2 separate regions of the Homo sapiens genome follow, and region 2 is linked to region 1. The links are contacts of gene promoters, found by promoter capture Hi-C in blood cells and fetal thymus (Javierre and others, 2016). All regions are on one chromosome and are shown on one strand. Each heading gives the region's core, a stretch centred on a gene start or on the middle of the fragment in contact. The rest is flanking DNA. Distances are from core to core; before and after follow the strand shown. Region 1 holds the start of QNG1 (Q-nucleotide N-glycosylase 1). Region 2 has its middle 52 kb from the start of SLC28A3-AS1.

Region 1 (4,013 bases), core at 495-2,994:
TCTGGAAAACGTATCATAGTGGAGTCCTTAAAGTTCCTTTTTCTTACCAAAATGAAGAAACTGGAGTGATGAAGATCTGCTTTTCTAGGGTAACAGCTGTCAAATTTAAAAGCTCCATTTGGGGCCAGGTGTGGTGGCTCATGCCTGTAATCCCAGCATTTTGGGAGGCCAAGACAGGCGGATCACCTGAGGTCAGGAGTTCGAGATCAGCCTGGCCAACATGGTGAAAACCTGTCCCTACTAAAAATACAAAACTTAGCCGGGCGTGGTGGCGGGCACCTATAATCCCAGCTACTCGGGAGGCTAAGCCAGGAGAATTGCTTGAACCCAGGAGGCGGAGGTTGCAGTGAGCCGAGACTGTGCCACTGCATTCCAGCCTGGATGACAGAGTGAGACTCCGTCTCAAAAAAAAAGCTCCATTTGGGAGGCCGAGGAGGGTGGATTACCTGAGGTCAGGAGTTTGAGACCAGCCTGGCCCACATAGGGAAACCCCATCTCTACTAAAAATACAAAAATTAGTCAGGTGTGGTGGCTGACACCTATAATCCCAGCTACTTGGGAAGCTGAGGCAGGGAGAATCACTTGAACCGGGGAGGTGGAGGTTGCAGTGAGCTGAGATCATGCCACTGCACTCCAGCCTGGGCGACAGGGTGAGATTCTGTCTCAAACAAACAAATTTAAAAGCTCCGAATCCTCCAAAAATACCAAGATTTTCCTGTCGGTAACTAGAGATGGGTACTGATGATTATTTTTAATAGGTGATTTTCAAAGATGTGAACGTTATCCATGGAGATTTAAGTCTCCAAAAGGAAAAAAAATGCATACCTTTATACTAAAACTTCATCACCAGTCAAATTTGGATCATCACTAAATTGGCTTCTACACCTCTCTCCTAATATAAGGTACTTGTGTAAGTTTGCAGTTGTGAGACACTTATTTCCTCATTTTTAATGTCTTCTCAGTAGGGCCACTGATATAGTCACTATTTGACTGACCAGAATGGTTGGCACTGGTGATTGGCTCATAAAGTGCCCTCGATTTAGGGGGCTCAATTATCAAAGGTTTAAATCCTAGCCCAAACCATTGCTGTGATGGGGGTTAATCAATGAACCACTCAGCTTCACTTGCAAAAGCGGGATCACAATAGCCGCTTTCGTCATGACCCAGCCTAGGTGAGATTTAGTACTTAAGTACACTGCCAGGCACACAAGGTTAATTTAACAATTTAACACATTTGTTTCCTCATCCATTTCTCCAAACCTTCCAACTAATCCTAACGTTCGTTCGGCCAAATGGGCCAGGAATTCACTTAAACAAAAACAAAAAACAAAACAAACAAAAAAACACTCCCTGGGGCTTGGGGAAGGAGGCACCGCCGCCCATGTCGCAGTCTGGGGGTGGCTCAGTCCTCAGCACCCAGATCTACGGCCATAATGCTCTTCGAGGCCAAGGAGCCCGGATGCGGGGCGTTGCCGAAGGCGTCTTGCTCAGGCTGCGGGAAAGGAGAGGGGTGGGAGCGGGGTGGGGGCATCGCGACCCAGGGCAAGGCGGCGAGTCGCCGTCTTCGAGTCCCACCTGTCCGAAGCGGGGTGAGAAAAGGCAAAACATGGCAAAGCCATGCACCTCCCAGGGTGGGCAACTCACGGCCGGTGAACGCCGGACCCTTAGCAGTTTCCAGACCTTTGGAACCGGAAGCGGAGCCTGAGAGCGCGCCCGAGAGGGCGTGAACGGGACCGCTTTCCCGGAAGTGCTTGCGGCCTCTGCCCAGCGAGCTGCCCCGGGGTCTCTCTGGTTTCCTAATCAGGGCAACGCCGCGGGAGAGAACCTTTACCTTGGCTGCACTAAGTTCTCGGTGCCACTCCCTGGCAGGGCGGGACCTTGTTTAGGCCCTGTGATCGCGCGGTTCGTAGTAGCGCAAGGCGCAGAGTGGACCTTGACCCGCCTAGGGCGGGAAGAGTTTGGCCCGCCGGGTCCCAAAGGGCAGAATGGACGGGCTCCTAAATCCCAGGGAATCCTCTAAATTCATTGCAGAAAACAGTCGGGATGTGTTTATTGACAGCGGAGGCGTACGGAGGGTGGCAGAGCTGCTGCTGGCCAAGGCGGCGGGGCCAGAGCTGCGCGTGGAGGGGTGGAAAGCCCTTCATGAGCTGAACCCCAGGGCGGCCGACGAGGCCGCGGTCAACTGGGTGTTCGTGACAGACACGCTCAACTTCTCCTTTTGGTCGGAGCAGGACGAGCACAAGTGTGTGGTGAGGTACAGAGGGAAAACATACAGTGGGTACTGGTCCCTGTGCGCCGCCGTCAACAGAGCCCTCGACGAAGGTTGGTGCCATACTTGCCATCGGACCTAACGGCCTTTGAGGTTTCCATTTACTTGGGGTGTGTGTAGGGGAGTTCCAAGGAGCGGGTTGGGAGATGGAATAATGGAAAGCGAACCTGAAGTTCGTTGCAAGTCCTTATGCTTAAAATAGAAGTATGAAAAGGGGCATATTTTAGTGGAAAATGATGTTAATATTTATCATTGCAGCATAAAAGTTACAGTAGCATAAAAGTCAGTTTTATAAAGAATGCCATTTGAATGACACCTGAAGAACAAAAGGACCGATGTTATAAAGCAATTTACTCAGAATACATCTGATGTAATATTGCAATAGTTAGAAATGGGTGAATAAGTACAGATGAACAAGTAGAAAATGAGTTTTGCTTTAGATTTTTTATTCTTCCACTTTTGGTGCATTCCTATACCACTCATTTGGTTTCATATTAATTCCATGTTGTAAAAGCAAGGGTTTAATGCATATGGAAGTATGACATTGGTCCTCTGAATTTTATTTTTTCACTAAAGGGATACCAATAACTAGTGCCTCGTACTACGCGACAGTGACCCTGGATCAGGTTCGGAATATACTTCGTTCTGACACAGACGTTTCCATGCCTTTAGTAGAAGAGAGGCATCGGATTCTCAATGAAACCGGGAAAATTCTGCTGGAGAAGTTTGGAGGCTCTTTTCTCAACTGCGTCCGAGAAAGTGAGAATAGTGCGCAGAAGTTAATGCACCTGGTGGTTGAAAGTTTTCCTTCTTACAGAGATGTGACTCTGTTTGAGGTGAGTTGCTTCTGTTGGGGATTTTAGAAGTCTTAATCATCTCAGAGTTAACTCTTTTACTTCCAGAACTCATTTTAAGAATAAAAACTTAAATTTTTAAATGTATTCCTTGTGGAAGAAACTAACAAAATCAAGTAGTGTTTCAAAGTCATTTCTTATGTTTTCTTTTGTTTGTTTGTTTGAGACAGAGTTTTGCTCTTGTTGCGCAGGCTGGAGTGCAGTGGCGTGATCTTGGCTCACCGCAACCTCTGCCTCCCGGGTTCAAGCGATTCTCCTGCCTCAGCCTCCCGAGTAGCTTGGATTACAGGGATGCGCCACCAAGCCCGGCTAATTTTATGTATTTTTAGTAGAGACGGGGTTTCACTATGTTGGCCAGGCTGGTCTCAAACTCCCGACCTCAGGTAATCTGGTCGCCTCAGCCTCCCAAAGTGTTGTGATTACAGGCGTGAACCACCACGCTGGCGTCATTTCTTTCCTTTTTTTTTTTTTTTTTTTTTTTTTGAGATGGACTCTTACTCTGTCACCCAGGCTAGAGTGCAGTGGCGCGATCTTGGCTCACTGCAAACTCCGCCTCCCGGGTTCAGGTGATTCACCTGCCTCAGTCTCCCGACTAGCTGGGATTACAGGTGCCCGCCACTGCGCTAGGCTAATTTTTGTATTTTTAGTAGAGACGGGGTTTCACCATGTTGGCCAGGCTGGTCTTGAATTCCTGACCTCGTGATCCACCCACCTCGGTCTCCCAAAGTGCTGGGATTACAGGCGTGAGCCACTGTGCCGGGCCTTTTTTTTTTCTTTCCCTGAGATGGAGTCTTGCTCTGACTCCCAGGCTGGAGTGCAGTGGCACTATCTCAGCTCACTGCAACCTCCGCCTCCCGGGTTCAAGCGATTCTCCTGCCTTTGCCTCCTGA
Region 2 (4,013 bases), core at 550-3,049, 270 kb before region 1:
GCTGCATCCCCTCACCGTCCCATTGCCCTCAGGAGTTGAGGCACCCTCCTCTCCACCCCCAGTAGAATCACAATGGGAACGGCAGAAAAGGCTTAACACAAGAGAGGCGGCTCATTGTCCTCAACGGGAGGCAATCTGAGTTCCTACTGGACTCTGTCAAAGGCTGACAATTGACTCTGGGGAGCAACTTGGCACTCTTTAGCAGACTGAAGGCGCACTTCCAAGTTTATACCCTAAAGAAACATGTGCTTAAGGACTTGTGCATTAGAGTGTTTATTCACTTTGGGGCCTTTTTATTGGATTTTTTGTTGTTGTTACTATGGAAAAATCTAAACATGTATAAATGTTAACAGAGCAGTTTAATAAATCCCCACTTTCCTGTCACTCTGTTTCAATAACAATCAATTCATTGCAATATCATTTCATCTAAACCCCACCCACTCATCACCACTCCTGTATTATTTCAAACCACATCCCAGACATTCTATCATCTCATTCATATTTCAGTAAATATATATATATACTGAATATATATATTCAAAATTCTCAGAGAGAGATATATATATATATACCTCAAAAATAAAGAATCTTGTAAAAAATAACCAAAAATAGGCCAAGCCCGGTGGCTCACGCCTGTAAATCCCAGCACTTTGGGAGGCGGGGGTGGGTGGATCACCTGAGATCAGGAGTTCAAGACCAGCCTGGTCAACATGGTGAAACCCCGTCTCCACTAAAAATACAAAAATTAGCCAGGCGTGGTGGCACACGCCTGTACTCAGGAGGCCAAGGCAGGAGAATCGCTTGAACCCGGGAGGCAGAGGTTGCAGTGAGCTGAGATCGCACCATTGCACTCCAGCCTGGGTGACAGAGCAAGACTCTGCCTCAAAAAAAATAAAATAAAATAAACAACAACAACAAAAATAACCAAAATATTAATAAACATAAACTATATAACCATACTAACCAAAAAAAAACAATTATTTCATAACATTTTTAATTATCAGGTCAGAGTTCAAGTTTTTGATTTTTTTTCATAAATGAGAGAATTCTTAAGACAATTGGTACTCTGAAAATGATGGGATATTTAACGATATTTTTATTTGTTTTGAGACAGAGTCTTGCTTTGTCACCCAGGCTGGAGTGCAGTGGCATGATCTTGGCTCACTGCAACCTCCGCCTCCCAGGTTCAAGCAATTCTCCTATCTCAGCCTCCCGAGTAGCTGGGACTACAGGTGCATACCACCACGCCTGGGTAATTTTTGTATTTATTTTAGTAGAGATGGGGTTTCACTATATTGGTCAGGCTGGTCTCGAACTCTTAACCTCAGGTGATCCACCTGCCTCGCCCTCCCAAAGTGCTGGGGTTACAGGCATGAGCCACTGTGCCTAGCCTTAATGATATTTTTAAATGTTACATTTTTTTAGATATAATAATGATTTTGTATTAATGATTAAGCCTTATGCTGAAATATTTATGGCTAAAATGATATGTTATCTGGACGATTTGCTTCCAATTGGAGTAACAGGGGTACAAATGAAGCAAGACTGGTCATGAATTGGTCATTATGGAAACTGATAGACACGTGAGGGGTTTTTTATACTGCTCTCTCTGCTTTTTTATATATTTTAAATGTTCCATCATAAAAAGTTTTTAACCAGCCTGGCCAACGTGGTGAAACCCCATATCTTCTAAAAATACAAAAAATAACCAGGTGTTGTGGTACACGCCTGTAGACCCAGCTACTCGGGAGCCTGAGGTAGGAGAATTGCTTGATCCCAGGAGGCAGAGGTTGCAGTGAGCCAAGATCACACCACTGCACTCCAGCCTGGGCAACAAAGCGAGACCCTTTCTCAAAAAAAAAAAAAAAATAGAAAAGTTTTTAAAAAGCAGATTTAAACAACATATTGTTTACACATAGAAAGATAAAAAGGATAAAAAAAGAGAAAGGGAAAGATAAACACAAAATTAAGGACATGGTTATGTAGGGTTGGGGGGTGCAGAGGGTTGTTAAATGTAAATTACTGGAAATGTTCTAGCTCTTAGTTGTGAGTGACTTTTATGTTATTTTCTAAATTAAAATATTACATGATAGGTAAAAGACAGTGGTCACTTATGCACCATGACAATACTGTGGTGTCCCAAACCAAGGATTATAATTGGTTCAATTCTGTGCACCTGAGGGCCAAAGGAAAAGGAGAAAAATTGCATAGTGACCAATACACAGACACACACACACACACACACGCACTCACACACTGAAAGAGTAGCTCCAAAAACAATGCTTATCTCTACTACATGTAACACTCTGAAGTCTTCTATTCTATTTTAGTTCACTTGTTTAAAAATGCCAGTCAGGATTCAATAAACTGGTTTCCTGACCTTGTATGACCCACAGTATGCAAAACACTGGACCATGTGATGATGAGGGCCTCTTCAAATTCTCACACTCTAAAATGCTTAAGTTGGTTTAATCTATTCAATAGGCTCTACAGCTGATTACAAATAGCAGCAGTAAAAAAGGGGCTTCTTCTGTATTTCTATCTCAGAAAATATAGGGGACTGCTCTCTTGCACTGGCCTCCTTTTCCAGATCTCTAAATGGTGGAGGGCCTTGGGACTCAGTACTCTTTCTGCACCCAAGCCCAGGGGATATCATCCAGTTCCTAGACTTTATAAACGATTTATATCCTGGTGACTCTCAAATTTGTATTTCCAGCCCTAACCTTTTCCCCGAACTCCAGATTCTGACATCCAGCTGCCTACATAACATCTCTACCAGGATATCTGTTACCTCTCTTAAATCCATACTCTATATTTCTTTTTTTCCTTTTTTTTTTTTTTTTTTTTTTTTTGAGATGGAGTCTTACTCTGTCACCATGCTGGAGTGCAGTGGTATGATCTCGACTCACTGCAACCTCTGCCTCCCGGGTTCATGTGATTCTCCTGACTTAGCCTCCCAAGTAGCTGATATTACAAGCACATGCCACCACGCCCAGCTAATTTTTGTATTTTTAGTGGAGACGGGGCTTCACCATGTTGGCCAGGATGGTCTTGATCTCCTGACCTGGTGATCCACCCGCCTCGGCCTCCCAAAGTGCTGAGATTACAGGTGTGAGCCACCGCGCCTGGCTCCATACTCTATATTCTAAGCTGAGTAATAATGACTCTGTTGCTGATCCTCAGGCACAGACTAAAAGCCCTGCAGTCATCCTTGACTTCTCTCTCACACACCCCACATTCAACTCATCAGTAAATCCTCCCTCTCTATACCTTCCAGGCATATTCCAGATCTGACCACAACTGACCACTTCCTACTGACCACTGCAACCACCTTAGCCCACTCCGTCAACTCACTCTCAGAGTTCCTGGAAGGAACTTACCTCGAATGTATTCCTTTTACACCTAGAATGTTTTTCTGCCCTTCAGACTTCATCTTGTGCCACTCACATCTCCAGAACAGAGGCACATGCCTCTGCTTTCTAGCAGAGTAATAAGAAGAAAGCCTGTCCTAGGTAGGATTCTCCAAGAAATTGAGATGGAGCAGGGCTTCCCTCTTAGGGGCCTGAGATCCCCCCACCCAAGCATGGAAATAAAGGAATATCTTGAATTCCTTCTAGAAAAGATCCAAGCACATCGCTAGCCCTGAGAAGTAAATAAGCGACTTGATAAGGAACAGGGTACTCTAAAACAAGAGCCAGGGAAGCTAGAAGTATGGGATATTTGGTTCCCCTAAGAAACTAAAGATAACATTTTAACCCATGTCTCCAAGTTGTTTTTCAGAAACCCAGACCCTCACCAAACAGATCTGCAGGCAAATGGACCTCAGCTAAGGGGAAACTGAGGCCTGAACCCTGACCACCTTTCTTTGTTCTATATTTCTTCCTGAGGGGCCTGGAGGAAGTCACACCCATAGGTCAGAGCGTACATTCTTTTCTGCTGTCCCCAAATGTTTAAACAGAGCCTGTCTTCCTTAACCAACTGCAAATCAGAAAAAGCTTTGAATCTACCCATGA

Evidence for each region. The method cuts DNA at HindIII sites, captures the fragments that hold promoters and counts their contacts. A CHiCAGO score of 5 or more calls a contact.
Region 2: a fragment that was not itself captured here is called in contact with the fragment with the promoter of QNG1 in region 1 in 2 of 17 cell types (neutrophils and endothelial precursors); the score reaches 5.2 in neutrophils.

The regions. Positions count from the first base shown.
Region 1 is chr9:83,954,473-83,958,485 of GRCh38, reverse strand. It overlaps QNG1 (Q-nucleotide N-glycosylase 1), which reads left to right and starts at 1,744. Exons shown (of 4, transcript NM_032307.5): 1 at 1,744-2,322; 2 at 2,846-3,105. The coding sequence starts at 1,986. The HindIII fragment of the contact is 8,080 bases long and covers 1-4,013 here.
Region 2 is chr9:84,224,634-84,228,646 of GRCh38, reverse strand. No RefSeq gene overlaps it. Among named protein-coding and RNA genes, the nearest start is that of SLC28A3-AS1, 52 kb to the left of the region's middle. The HindIII fragment of the contact is 4,396 bases long and covers 1-3,997 here.